5 separate regions of the Homo sapiens genome follow, and all the other regions are linked to region 5. The links are contacts of gene promoters, found by promoter capture Hi-C in human tissues and cell types (Jung and others, 2019). All regions are on one chromosome and are shown on one strand. Each heading gives the region's core, a stretch centred on a gene start or on the middle of the fragment in contact. The rest is flanking DNA. Distances are from core to core; before and after follow the strand shown.

Evidence for each region. Contacts are between HindIII fragments. The study calls those that stand out against the background at their distance.
Region 1: a contact is called between a fragment that was not itself captured here and the fragment with the promoter of PARP6 in region 5, in 2 of the 25 tissues and cell types used here (hippocampus and spleen).
Region 2: a fragment that was not itself captured here is called in contact with the fragment with the promoter of PARP6 in region 5 in 1 of the 25 tissues and cell types used here (hippocampus).
Region 3: a fragment that was not itself captured here is called in contact with the fragment with the promoter of PARP6 in region 5 in 1 of the 25 tissues and cell types used here (mesenchymal stem cells).
Region 4: a contact is called between a fragment that was not itself captured here and the fragment with the promoter of PARP6 in region 5, in 1 of the 25 tissues and cell types used here (bladder).

What each region holds. Positions count from the first base shown.
Region 1 is chr15:72,461,448-72,464,431 of GRCh38, reverse strand. The region is part of intron 1 of TMEM202-AS1 (TMEM202 antisense RNA 1); the gene reads left to right. Among named protein-coding and RNA genes, the nearest start is that of TMEM202-AS1, 11 kb to the left of the region's middle. RefSeq lists an enhancer at 2,157-2,426. The HindIII fragment of the contact is 4,046 bases long and covers 1-2,984 here.
Region 2 is chr15:72,101,284-72,104,247 of GRCh38, reverse strand. All of the region lies in intron 1 of MYO9A (myosin IXA), which reads left to right. Among named protein-coding and RNA genes, the nearest start is that of MYO9A, 15 kb to the left of the region's middle. RefSeq lists an enhancer at 1,670-2,180. The HindIII fragment of the contact is 8,126 bases long and covers 1-2,964 here.
Region 3 is chr15:72,506,615-72,509,577 of GRCh38, reverse strand. The region is part of intron 1 of ARIH1 (ariadne RBR E3 ubiquitin protein ligase 1); the gene reads right to left. Among named protein-coding and RNA genes, the nearest start is that of ARIH1, 34 kb to the right of the region's middle. The HindIII fragment of the contact is 4,796 bases long and covers 1-2,963 here.
Region 4 is chr15:72,489,397-72,492,122 of GRCh38, reverse strand. All of the region lies in intron 1 of ARIH1 (ariadne RBR E3 ubiquitin protein ligase 1), which reads right to left. Among named protein-coding and RNA genes, the nearest start is that of ARIH1, 16 kb to the right of the region's middle. The HindIII fragment of the contact is 3,971 bases long and covers 1-2,726 here.
Region 5 is chr15:72,271,070-72,273,837 of GRCh38, reverse strand. It overlaps PARP6 (poly(ADP-ribose) polymerase family member 6), which reads left to right and starts at 1,284. Exons shown (of 24, transcript NM_001323532.2): 1 at 1,284-1,445; 2 at 2,551-2,768. RefSeq lists enhancers at 782-871, 932-981 and a silencer at 1,122-1,541. The HindIII fragment of the contact is 3,446 bases long and covers 93-2,768 here.

The DNA.
Region 1 (2,984 bases), core at 177-2,676, 190 kb before region 5:
GCTGTTGTCCAGGCTGGAGGGCAATGGCGCGATCTCAGCTCACCACAACCTCTGCTTCCCGGGTTGAAGCAATTCTCCTGCCTCAGCCTCCTGAGTAGCTGGGATTACAGGCATGCGCCACTATGTCTAGCTAATTTTGTATTTTTAGTAGAGATGGGGTTTCTCCATGTTGGTCAGGCTGGTCTCAAACTCCCGACCTCAGGTGATCCGCCCACCTTGTCCTCCCAAAGTGCTGGAATTACAGGCGTGAGCCACCGCACCCGGCCTCAAGTTCCCATTTTAAAGAATTTGACAGGACAATAAAGTAATTAAAATCATTACATTGTATCTACATGTTATTAAAACAGAATAGTCCTGGAGGTTTATACCATATTGATTAGTATATTTGTTTACATTAAGCAAAGCCGAGCATATGTGGGCACATTTTTTTTCTAAATCACAAGCTGCATGTATGAGCCGTGAGCCTTTGTTTCTCCTAAGTGAGTGTATATGGGAGATTGCAGGTGGAGAGGGTCAGACAGAGGGATGAGATATTGTGCAACAGTGAGTATTCTTACTCAGCTGACTTTGAGAGGCACAATAGTGTGGTAGTTAGCACCATACATGCCAGAGCTAGAAACCCTACTTATTAAATATGTGACCTTAGGCAAATTAGTTTACCTCTTACAAGCCTGTTTCCTCATCTGAGGAAAAAAAAAGGAAAAATAATAAGGTTTTCCTCATTGGATTGCAATGATGAAATGAGTTAGTGTAAAGGACTTACATTATTATTATTTGACACAGGAAGTGTACAGAGCTTTGTTTTAGGTCTGACTATATACAAAGATGATTATTCAATTTTAAAGTAGTGGCCCTTTGAAGAAAACAAAGCAATATTCATTTGTCAAATTGCTGAAAATGCTACTGTGCTCTTCTTGTATGCCTGTATTTTTATTAGTTAATTCAACAAGTCAGTTGTTCACTAACATGTCAGGCACTGTGCTAGATGTTGAGGTTAAGAAGATAAATAGGCCAGGCGCGGTGGCTCACGCCTGTCTGTAATTCCAGCACATTGGGAGGCCGAGGCGAGCGGATCGCCTGAGGTTGGGAGTTTGAGACCAGCCTGGCCAGACGGTGAAATCCTGTCTCTATTAAAAATGCAAAAAAAAAAAAAAAAATTAGCCAGGTGTGCTGGCATGCGCCTGTAAACCAGCTGCTCAGGATGCTGAGGCAGGAGAATCACTTGAACCCAGGAGGCGGAGGTTGCAGTGAGCCGAGATCCCGCCATTGCACTCCAGCCTGGACAACAGAACGAGACTCTGTCTGAAAAGATAAATAAATAAAACCATTTCAGCTCTCAAGAAGTTCTCAGGCTAGTAAGAGAAGCAGACATGTAAACCATTAATTATAAGTACTATAGTAGAAGTATGATCTGAATGTTAGGGAAGCAAGAATATATGTATCTAACTCAGTGTAGAAGGCACACAAGCGTGTCATGGAGGCCTTCCTAGGGAAAATGTGGCCTGAGCTGGCCAAGCATGGTGGCTCACGCCTGTAATCCCAGCACTTTGGGAGGCCAAGGTGGGCGGATCACGAGGTCAGGATATCGAGACCATCCTGGCTAACACGGTGAAACCCCGTCTCTACTAAAATATATATTTTTTTAAATTAGCCAGGTGTGGTGGCGGGCGCCTGTAGTCCCAGCTACTTGGGAGGCTGAGGCAGGAGAATGGCGTGAACCTGGGAGGCAGAGTTTGCAGTGAGCCAGGATCGTGCCACTGCACTCTAGCCTGGGCAACAGAGCAAGACTCCATCCAAAAAAAAAAAAAGTGTGACCTGAGCTGAGTATTGGAGGACAAATAAATGATGTTCTGGGAAGAGGAATGTGAATGTATATATAAAATATGTAAGTGTGAAATACGGCATATTTGAGCCATGCATTATTTGGGGAACTGCCAGAAATTCAGCATGCCTGAAATTTTGGGTGTATATAAGACTGTTAGGGCCAGGCACGGCGGCTCATGCTTGTAATCCCAGCACTTTGGGAGCCGAGGCAGGCGAATCACATGAGGCTAGGAGTTTGAGACCAGCCCGGCCAACATGGCGAAACCCTGTCTCTACTGAAAATACAAAAAATTAGCCAAACCTAGTGGCACTTGCCTGTAATCACAGCTACTCGGGGGGAGGGCTGAGGCACAAGAATCGCTTGAACCCGGGAGGCAGAGGTTGCAGTGAGCCAAGATCGCACCACTGCACTCCAGCCTGGAGACAGAGCGAGACCCTGTCTCAAAACAAAACAAAAACCTGCTAGAAATGCCATTGTCCCTTCTTGTACCCTTCCCCTAGAAAGGTCCCTTTTTTATTCTTTTTTATCCTCTTTCACTTTCTCTTTACATAACTTGGCTCAAGGCTCCTCGGCTTGCAAATGATAAGAGGTGGAAATCAAAGCCCTGATTCATCTCTCTGTCTCTAGTCTGTACTCCTTCTCTTATGCTACTTTGAAGATTTTCCATTCTTTGAATAAAATTTGTCATTATTTTACTAGGATTTTTGTGAGGGAGATTGTGATAGGTTGTGCTTTACTAGACTAATTTTGGTCATTACATTTAGATTTTATAGAGCTAATAGGATGAGTGCAAGTAGGGGAAGATGTACTCCATATTAATTCAATTAAATATACATATACTGAATGCAGTTGAACGTAACTATTGTGTTAGCTATTATTGAAAATACAAATCAGATTACATTTTCTGTCCTTAAGAAGCTTATATTCTAATACAGGAAATCATGCAGGAAAAAAATCTAATGCCAGATGGTTCGTCAAACAGCTGTCTGTTAAGCTTAGCACTAGGGCCATGTTTCTCAACTTTTATTTCCATTATCAGCCCCCTTATGGAACCCTTTTAGACCTGTTTTTCCTATTCAGCACCCCACTGTAAAATTTTAACACCATAGATACACTGTATATGCTTTAATGGACTGTATGTGTATCTATGCTTTATATA
Region 2 (2,964 bases), core at 343-2,842, 170 kb after region 5:
TAGCCTACAGTTGGACAGAATCATCTGGCAACACAGTATATACTATTGAGGATCAGTTGTTTACCCTTGTGAGAGCTGCTGCTTTCTGCTGCTGCCCAGCATTATGAGAAAGTATCATACTGCATATTGCTAGCCTGGGAAAAGATAAAAATTCAAAATTTGAAGTATGGTTTCTACTGAATGCATATCGATTTTGCACTGTGCTAAAGTTGAAAAACTGTAAGTTGAACCGTCATAAGTTGTGGACCATCTGTATACAAGAGAAGGCATAAAATGTTCAGTTTAAGGGAAATAATAAAGTGAATATTAGTGTTGTCATTGCCCAGGTCAACAAGCCAGAAGTGCTTCCCTCCAACCTCACCATCCTTGTCAACATATCCCCCCTCAGTGGAGGTAGTTATTATCCTGACCTTTGTGACTGTTTTTTGCTTTGCTTCATAATTTTAAGTCCTAGCTATACATCCTTAAACAATATAGTTTTCCTTGTTTTTGAACTTCATGTGCATATAATAATACTATGTGTATATTATGTAATCTAAAAAATTAGTTCAGTATTTGTGAAATTCTTCTGCTTCTGCTGCTGCTTCTTCTGTTACTTCTGCTTCTTCTGTTTCTTCTTCTGCTTCTTCTGTTGCTTCTTCTGCTTCCACTGCTTCTGCTGCTTCTGCTTCCACTGCTTCTGCTGCTTCTGCTTCCACTGCTTCTGCTGCTTCTGCTTCCACTGCTTCTGCTGCTTCTGCTGCCACTGCTTCTGCTTCTGCGCTGCTTCTGCTTCTGCTGCTGCTTCTTCTTCTGCTGCTGCTTCTGCTTCTGCTGCTGCTGCTTCTGCTGCTGCTTGCTGCTTGCTGCTGCTTCTGCTGCTGCTGCTTCTGCTTCTGCTGCTGCTTCTGTCTCTGCTTGCTGCTGCTTCTGCTTCTGCTGCTGCTGCTTGCTGCTGCTTCTGCTTCTGCTGCTGCTGCTTGCTGCTGCTTCTGCTGCTGCCTCTGCTTCTCCTTCTGCTGCTGCTGCTTCTGCTGCTGCTTCTGCTTCTGCTGCTGCTTTTTTTTTTTCTTGAGACTTAGTCTTACTCTGCCACCCAGGCTGGAGTGCAGTGGCGCAATCTTGGCTCACTGCAACCTCCGCCTGCCAGGCTCAAGTGATTCTCCTTCCTCAGCCGAGGAGAATCACTTGAACCCGGGAGTGGAGGTTCAGTGAACAGAGATCGCACCACTGCACTCCAGCCTGGGTGACAGAGTGAGATTCCATCTCAAAAAACAAAGAAACAACAACAAAAAAAACCATATATAATTTGAATTTATCTGTAGATTCTTCTGGATTTCCTATATATATAATTATGTCATATGCAAATAATGACAATTTTGTCTCTTGTTTCTAATCCTTATACCTTTTATTTTTTTCCTGCTTTCCTTTGCTGCCTGAGATCTCCAGCATAATGTTGATAGGACTTTATAGGGCCATCTTTGTCTTGTTTCTCATCTCAAGGGAAAAATGTTCAACCTTTCCTCATTAAGCATGGTGTAGGCTTTGTAGATACCTTTTATCGAATCAAGGAAGCTTCTGTTTTTCTTTTGCCAAGACTCCATTAGAGACGTGTATAACTACTGAATTTTCTTGGATTTTTTTGAGATGTGGTTGATTGTATTGATTGGCTTTCTGATATATCTGTTATTTCTGGATTCAGAGTCCAGAGTGCTCACCATTACACCATGGAACCACCTAATCTGTTATTTCTTTTTTTTTTTTTTTTTAAATTTATTTATTTTTTATTGATAATTCTTGGGTGTTTCTCACAGAGGGGGATTTGGCAGGGTCATAGGACAATAGTGGAGGGAAGGTCAGCAGATAAACAAGTGAACAAAGGTCTCTGGTTTTCCTAGGCAGAGGACCCTGCGGCCTTCCGCAGTATTTGTGTCCCTGGGTACTTGAGATTAGGGAGTGGTGATGACTCTTAACGAGCATGCTGCCTTCAAGCATCTGTTTAACAAAGCACATCTTGCACCGCCCTTAATCCGTTTAACCCTGAGTGGACACAGCACATGTTTCAGAGAGCACAGGGTTGGGGGTAAGGTCACAGATCAACAGGATCCCAAGGCAGAAGTTTTCTTAGTACAGAACAAAATGAAAAGTCTCCCATGTCTACTTCTTTCTACACAGACACGGCAACCATCCGATTTCTCAATCTTTTCCCCACCTTTCCCGCCTTTCTATTCCACAAAGCCGCCATTGTCATCCTGGCCCGTTCTCAATGAGCTGTTGGGCACACCTCCCAGACGGGGTGGTGGCCGGGCAGAGGGGCTCCTCACTTCCCAGTAGGGGCGGCCGGGCAGAGGCGCCCCTCACCTCCCGGGCGGGGCCGCTGGCCGGTCGGGGGCTGACCCCCCCACCTCCCTCCCGGACGGGGCGGCTGGCCGGGCGGGGGGCTGACCCCGCCACCTCCCTCCCGGACGGGGCGGCTGGCCTGGCAGAGGGGCTCCTCACTTCCCAGTAGGGGCGGCCGGGCAGAGGCGCCCCTCACCTCCCAGACGGGGCGGCTGGCCGGGCGGGGGGCTGACCCCCCCCACCTCCCTCCCAGACGGGGCGGCTGGCCGGGCGGGGCCTGACCCCCCCACCTCCCTCCTGGATGGGGCGGCTGGCCGGGCAGAGGGGCTCCTCACTTCCCAGTAGGGGCGGCCGGGCAGAGGCGCCCCTCACCTCCCGGACGGGGCGGCTGGCCGGGCGGGGGGCTGACCCCCCCACCTCCCTCCCGGACGGGGCGGCTGGCCGGGCGGGGGGCTGACCCCGCCACCTCCCTCCCGGACGGGGCGGCTGGCCTGGCAGAGGGGCTCCTCACTTCCCAGTAGGGGCGGCCAGGCAGAGGCGCCCCTCACCTCCCAGATGGGGCGGCTGGCCGGGCGGGAGGCTGACGCCCCGACCTCCCTCCCGGACGGGGCGGCTGGCCTGGCGGGGGGCTGAACCCACCTCCCT
Region 3 (2,963 bases), core at 455-2,954, 240 kb before region 5:
AATAAGTAAGGATAGGGTACAAATCCAGAGCTGCCAAATATTAAAGGTGGGGGAGGGTTTGACTAAACAATGGGGTAGAAAGAAATTTGAGGGGTGATGGTGAGGGGAAACTGTTCTGTAAATTAACTATGGTGGTGGTTTACACAACTCTAGGCATTTATCAAAACTCAGAGAACTGTATGCTCCAGTGTAAATTTTATTGTATGAAACTTAAAGTATTCAACTATAAACGTAATCTAGCCTGCACTGGAGCACCTGTAGTGAAGTTCTTTTAAAAAGAACAATGTGGGCCAGGTGTGGTGGCTCACACCTGTAATCCCACCACTTTGGGAGACCGAGGCAGGTGATCACTTAAGGTCAGGACTTCAAGGCCAGGCTGACCAACATGATGAAACCTTGTCTCTACTAAAAATATAAACATTAGCTGGGAGTGGTGATGCACGCCTGTAGTCCCAGCTACTTGGGTGGCTGAGGCATGAGAATCACCTGAACCCAGGAAGCGGAGGTTGCAGTGAGCTGAGATCAGGCCACTGCACCCAGCCTGGGCAACAGAGCAAGACTCAGTCTCAAAAAAAAAAAAAAAGGGCCAGGCACAGTGGCTCACACCTGTAATCCCAGCACTTTGGGAAGCTAAGGCGGGTAGATCACCTAAAGTCAGGAGTTTGAGACCAGCCTGACCAATATGGTGAAACCTCATCTCTACTAAAAATACAAAAATTAGCCGGGCATGGTGGCGTATGCCTGTAGTCCCAGCTACTCGGGAGTCTGAGACAGGAGAATTGCTTGAACCCGGGACGTGGAGGTTGCAGTGAGCCGAGACTGCACCACTACACTCCAGCCTGGGTGATAGAGAGAGACTCCGTCTCAAAAAAAAAAAAAAAAGAAAGAAAGAACAATGAGAGTAAAAGGGAATGCTGAAAAGGAGAACATAGATTTGAAATTATTTAGTGCCGGGCACAATGCTAGATACTTTATATACATTATTTCATTTAATACTCACATCAATATTTTATGCAAGTTAGATATGATTTACATTTTACAGATGAGGTTACAGAGGTTAAGTGTCTTGGTCCAGGATAAAATAGGCTAGTAGGATTTGAATACATGGAGAAATTATTTTTTAATTTATGATTATAGCACCACTCCCTACAAGGACTTGTCAAAGGAGAGAAATTCACTTCGGTGTGCCACCAAAACTGATAGTTCAGTGAAAAGCCAATTCAAGCTCTTGGCTGAAATAAAGAGCTCTTCATCCTTTTTAAAGGATATAAACAAACCAAACAAAAACAGTTTGAGTAAAATCACTATAATCAGAAAACTAGTACTAATACTAGCAGCAGTACATTTAACTTTTAGGACAATAGAACAACCTAAAACCTTACATCTTGTCTAGTTATAACTCTAAATCAGTACCACCCACCCCTGTCCATTCTGGCTACATATAAGAATCTCCTGAGGAACTTAAAAAATACCATTAATTGGGCTTTGCCCCCAGCAATTCTGATTCAACTGTCAAGGGTAGAATATGAATATATATATTTTCATCCAACATTTTTATCTGAAGGTCCCCAGATGATCCTAACATGCAGACAGAACTGGGAACTACTGCTCTAAACAATTTCCCACTACACAGGCTCCGAAAAAGTACATCTGTAGAACTCCCATGAATGTGGCAGTATAGTATTTTAGTAATCTAAAGAAAATAACATTCCAGGCTCAGAGCAGCTGTATTTACTTTAAAGTTTTGCATTTTGAAAAAGTTGATTAGTAAGTCTGATTATGTCAACTGTCCTAGCTGAAGCTTTAACATCAATTGCACCATCATCCCCTATCCTTTGATCAAGTAGTTCTCAATTTTAGTAGCACATAAGCTCTTAATTGACTGTTATTTATTTATTTATTTTTATTTAAAGACAGGATCTTGCTATGTTGCCCAGGCTGGTCTCAAATTCCTGGGCTCATGCAATCCTCCAGCTTCAGCCTCCCAAAACACAGGGATTATAGGAATGAGCCACTGTGCACAGCCATCTAGGAAGCTTTTAAACAAGCCACAAACCCCAGGCCAAATATATCAGAATATGGGGGGAGTGAGGAAGAGGACTGAGGGGGACACCTGGGCATTACCATTTTCAAAAACTCCCAAGAGATTCCAATAAGCAGTCACAGTGGAGAATCATAATCTGGATGCACACATGTGTGCAGACAGGCCCATATTCAAGAGTATGACAAACTCTCCAGGTAGAATCACAACCAAAGCCAGGCATGGTGGCTCACGCCTGTAATCCCAGCACTTTGGGAGGCCAAGGCAGGCGGATCACTTGAGGTCAGAGTTCGAGACCAGCCTGGCCAACATGGTGAAACCCCGTCTCTACCAAAAATATACAAATATTAGCCGGGCACGGTGGTGTGCGCCTATAGTCCTAGCTACTTGGGAGGCTGAGGCAAGAGAAACACTTGAACCCAGGAGGCAGAGGTTGCGGTGAGCTGAGATCATGCCACTGCACTCCAGCCTGGGCGACAGGGCACGACTGCGTTTCAAAAAATAAATAAATAAATACATACATACATACATACATACATACATACATACATACATAAAAATAATCACAACCAAATTGCTGAATGACATTCCTATATTTAGCAGAGTGGGAGGCAACTACTTTTTCAAAAATCTCAAGAGACAACTTTCTTATTTTAGGATAAAGCTAAGTAAAAAAACAAACAAAAAAAACAAAAAAAAACCACTTTTTTATTCCAGTTTACATACACAGAAAACCTCCAAAACCCACCTTTTTATTATTTCAGAATTTGATCTGAACGAGAATTAAACAGGTTAGAGGCACCACCTTAAACCTCAGTTTTAAGATTTTCCTACAGAAGCATGGGCTCATGTTTGCATAAAATCTACAAGCTCCTCAAATGAGCTGCTTATGGGTCCAAAATTTAAAGAGAATTTTTTAATA
Region 4 (2,726 bases), core at 22-2,521, 220 kb before region 5:
GATATTTTCTTGAGGATGGTACATATGTAAGCTGTAAAGTCTTAAATGGGGTATGTAGTAGACTTCTGACTCTATTCCACTCTTAGTCATTTATTTGGATTCAGAGGCCACAGCAATGAAGTCACAAGTCAGAGCCCATTGACTCAGCCTGTATAAGTCAGTCTTCTGGAGCACAGCAGGATGGAAAAAGGTAGAAGAGTTCCGCAGAGGCAAACAGAAAATACCCAGCACACACAACAATAACATTCACACGTTTGTGTATATTTAATGATATAAAATACTGAGTTCCAACTCCAGCTATGAAAAGCTGGTTATTTAATTCCTCTATGCCTCTAATTCCTTAACCACAAAACAGTAAAAATGTCACCTATTTCACATAACAGTTGTGATAACTAAAGTTCCGTAAGATAACTGGTTAAGAGCAAAAAGTAGTATGTTAGAGAATGAGGGAAGGGTTAATTCAGTGAATTTGGTAGAAGAGAAATGTGAACAATTCACAAAGGAAAAAAATGGGGATAGTACCAAGACTTATTTTTATCAATAATAAAATCAATTAGAAAATTCATTCATATCTGACTTTTCACTCAATGTCTAACAGCTATGTTCCAGGAACTTTGTGGGTACAACGTGAATACCAAAATTAATACACTGATCAAACAACCAAGAATTTCAGAGTCTATCTAGTAAGGAAATAATGAGATAAGAGCTTTTTATTATAAAAGTATATACAAAATTCTGAGGCTCACAGGGAAAGATTCAAGGAAGAAACAATATTTACAGTGGGTCATGAAGTATGAATGGGTTTATGGGGGGGTGGGGGGAAGCATTTGAAGCATAGGAAAAAAACCTTACAAAGGCATACAGAAAATTTCCACAGGGAATGTGATTATTATGCTATAATACGAATAAGCATAAAGAAATGGCAGCTAAGGTAGATAGGGGCACATTATGAAAAGCCTGATTTATCATGCTAATAAATCTTTTATTTTTTATTTTTATTTTTTTCGAGACAAGAGTCTTACTCTGTCATCCAGCCTGGAGTGCAGTGGCACGATCTCGGCTCACTGCAACCTCTGCCTCCCAGGTTCAAGCAATTCTCCTGCCTCAGCCTCCCGAGTAGCTGGGATTACAGGAGCACACCACCACACCGGGCTAATTTTTATATTTTTAGTAGACACGGGGTTTCACCATGTTGGCCAGGCTGGTCTCGAACTCCTGACCTCATGATCTGCCCACCTCGGCCTCCCAAAGTGCAGGGATTACAGGTGTGAGCAAATCTTTTATCCTAATCTGCATTGTTTAGTCACTGGGACTCAAAGGCTCAAAACATGTTTGGCTAAGTAGGTTCCTTTTAAGTTTCCTATGCTATTGGCTGCCCACATAACCACTCCTATCCCTGCTTCCTCTCCCATCCCTGCTTGTCATGAATGATAAAGATGTGATATGCTTCCTCAGACTATAGATTTAGGCCAAATATGAACATTTTTGAAACTACAGTACAGTGGTCCCCAACTTTTTGGCACTAGGGACTGGTTTCATGGAAGACAATTTTTCCATGAAAGGAGCGGGAGGGGAGTGGAGTCAGACAATAACAATGAATATTCCACCTCAGATTATCAGGCATTAGATTCTCATAAGGAGTGCCAACCTAGATCCCTTGAATGCACAATTTACAATAGGGTTTGCACTCCTATGAGAATCTAATGCCGCTGCCAATCTGACACGAGGCAGAGCTCAGGTGGTAACGCTCCCTGGCTGCTCGCCTCCTGCTGTGCTGCCCAGTTCACAACAGGCCACAGCCTGAGGATTGGGAACTCCTGCTGTAATAAACTGAGTAAGGTGACTAACTTGTAAGAGAAGGAGACTTTTTTTTTTTTTTTGAGAAGGAGACATTTCAGCATTCCCTGAAAAACATTTTTTTTGCTAGAGATGGGGTCTCACTATGTTGCCCAGGCTGGTCTCAAACTCCTTGGTTCTATCAATCCTCCTGCCTCAGCCTCCCAAAGTGCTGGGATTACACGCTTGAACCACCGTGACTGGCCTCCCTGAAAAATCTGTGGTGACTATACGTATTACATTCACAAGGCTACAAAGGCCTCTTTTCCATTATTATCATCCTTTTCACAGTTCTTTTGATTTTTCTGATTTTTTTCCAAAGAGAGCCTTCTAATAGCTTTTAACAAGACTCTACTTATCCACAAAGATCAATATTTCCCTTTCCTAAAAACCAACTGGTTGCTTTGGAGGGCAAAGCTTTCCGTAACCCACAGAGGTGCCAACATATAACAAAAGTGAACCATACCAGGGTTGACATCTTATAAAAATAACATTTCAAAAGACAAACTGGTAGTGTGTGGAAATTTGAGGTAACAGCAATACGCTAAGATTCTCAACTGTGGAAACCTGCCCAGGGTAGGTCCAGAAACAGAAACAAGCTCACAAGTCAAAAGCACACACAAATGTTTTCATTTTGGGACGACCACCATACTTCAGTATGCAGAAGTGCTTTAGGCATACCTCCCATTTTGTCACACAAGCAATTAAGATGTGTCCTTAAGGAATAAAGACTTAGAAAACTAGTAATTTTTACTTATTCATTTAGGATTAAGTGAAACGTATTTTTTTACTCTGAGTGTGTGATAGTGAAGAACACAATGACTACTAGCATACTTTGGTGCCACTGATACCTTCTGTACTAAGGTGCCAGTGGTTTTACCTCCTCATTG
Region 5 (2,768 bases), core at 35-2,534:
GTAGATGTAACAAACTCACACCGAGACGGTGTTGTGGCCCAGGCTGAGTGGCAAGGTGAGCAGAGGGGGACATCAAAAGGGGAAGGAGTTAGAAAGGAGAGGCTGAGAATGTGCAAATGTAAATCAACCAACAACAAAAAGTTAACTGGGAAACTTCTGAGGCCAGCTTAGGAGGGATAGACATGACGTGTTTATATCATTCAGGGCCAAAGCCTTCTTTGTGTGTACTGTGTCCAGCTACAAAGAGGGAGTGAGGAAACAGAGTAGGTCTAAGATAAGCCTTTTCCCATTAGTGTTGATGGAAAAGAGGGTCACGTGGAAGCCCCAAGACTAATAAGGATGAAGGAGATCTGGCCATGTCTAGGGTTAATAACCACAATAACCACAATTACAGCTTCCATGTATGAACTACTTCCTAGTCCCAAGTACTCTGCTGGTTACTTTACATGGATTAGTTGGAATCGTATGAAATTGAAGGTATCTGACTGTTTATAAACTGCAAAAATAGCAATTTCCTACGGTTCAACCTAACACTATCTCAGTTCATCCTCACCACAACGGCTCCGTGAAACACATATTACTGTCTCCACCTCAAAGAGGAGAAATCAGATTCACAAAGTGAAAGTCATCGCTTAAGGCTGCACCATCAATAAGTGCCGAACCCAAGCTTCAGACCCAGATTGACTAGAAGGCCAGGGTGCTCTCCATCACGCTGCAGCTACCGGGGAACAAATGAGTTAAATGCCAGAATTTTTAAAAGCCCGAGGTGTTCGACTTCCATTGTCGAACCAGAGAATCCTGCAGTCAGCAAGGCCTCAGGACTTCCCTCAGTCTCTACCTGCCGGCCCCAACCTCCGGCGAGGGGACTCCCTCCCGGCCTACAGGCAACCTGGGTTGCCCTTCCTGCTTGTTCCTCCCAACCACTCGGGGCGCTAAATGCAAGTATTCTCCTTTGGAAGGCTCCCCGCACTCCCCCAGAGTCCCTCTTCCTTCTCCACTGCCTCCCCTACCCACGGCGCAGGCGCCACCCCCCACTCCGCACCCTTTCCCGACTAGCGACCGCCGCGCAGGCGTCTCAAGGCTGGCGTCGGCTGCTGAGGCGCGCCCAGGAGCAGGCCGTCAGGCTGTTGGTCAGGAGCGGGCCACGTGCCATCGTGTCACCGCGCGAGCGTGCGCAGAGTGGCTGAGCGCGCCCGTGACGGAACGACGAGGCGTGGGGTGCGCGACCTCGCCCGCCAGGCCCGGCCCCCGCCCCTTGGCCTGCCGCTCCGCCCCCGCGGGGCGTCCCGGGCCGCTCGTCCCGTCGGCTGCGGCCGCGCGCGGCCCGGGGTCGCCGTGAGTACTCGCCAGGCTGGCCTGTGTGGCCGCCACCACGGGCACAGGGCGGTGCGGCCGGGCCACGGGAAGGGTGCGGGGCTCGCCCCGTCTCCGCAGGGGTGGACGAAGTGAGAGGCTTGGACCGGGAGGTTCTGAGGGCCCCTCCTAGGCTGGACAGGCTTCACTCAGGCCCGGCGGCCGGGCGGCATAGATCGGGCCCAGAGCGTCTTTCCTGGGGAGGCAGGTGTTGGGTGTTTTTGGGGTCTTCAGGGGAGCCCCGGAGAACAGGTGTAACTGCTTCCCCGGGAGAGGCCTCAGGGCCTGTCCTGGAAGCACGGGTGCCAGAGAGTGTTTTCGCGGGGCAGCCGTGTCCTCTCTCCCTGCGGGGTGCCCGAGATAGCGCTAACCTGCGGGAGTCGCCCCTCAGTGATTCTTCCTAGTAGTCTTTGTTTAGTGGCCTACTCCTGAGAAGGGAGCACACGGGATGGAGTGGAGTAACCTCCTCCAGGACCACAAAGCCGGGAGCCCAACCCACAATTTAAACATTGAGCTCTGAAGCTGCTTTGACTAGACGTGAAGTTGTCACACCTAGAGAAGCGCCCATGGACCTAGGGAAAGACCTTTGTGATCCAGACTTGAGGCTCATTTACATTTGACTTATTCTCGTGGAAACTCATAAAGCGTTCTATATTAGCCGCTGAGTTTTAACACCTTCTCTGGACACTCATCATATAGTCTATTTTTGGCCCAACTTCTTTTGAAAGGGCCCATTCTTTACCTCATTTAGATAAATCAGATAGGTCTTTCTTGCTTACTTCATTAACAACTCAATTAATTATAACCACATCACATGAAGATTAGATGTAATTAGGACCTGTCCAATGTCTTTACATCCCAGTCCTTCTGTACTCCTAACCTTAAGCAAATTGGTCGACCTCTGTAGGTCTAAGTATTCTGTGTGTAACATGAAAGCTTTGAATTAGGCCACGTTTCCGGCTAATTTTTTAAAAAGTGTTTGTGATCCTGTGAATTCCATAACCCACCACCTTCCTTTTCCAACTCTTCACCTTTTAAATCCACTTTCCATCTCTCCAGAGGAAAGGGCATTGAGAGTAGAGGAAGCAAGTCCCTTTCACTAAAGCAGCCTGGTTTGAAAAAGCCGGTAATCTCTGAACTGTCTCTTGCTTGAACAAGAAAAACTCCCTCTGAAATACCTTTTTCTCCTTGTGATAGCAACAGAAACCAAGCAGCAACAGCCCTTGGAAAGAGGCTAAATTTTTCTTGACTTCTGCAGCAACAAAGACCGTGAAAAGTTGGCACTTCTGGCCTAACGCTGCCGTCATCCTACCCCTCACCCCAGGGCAACCCAGGCTGGACATTTAGTGCCTCCCTCTTTATTCCTCTGTGATCATCCAGATCAGCACTTGACTGTTTATTTTCAAATCTCACGA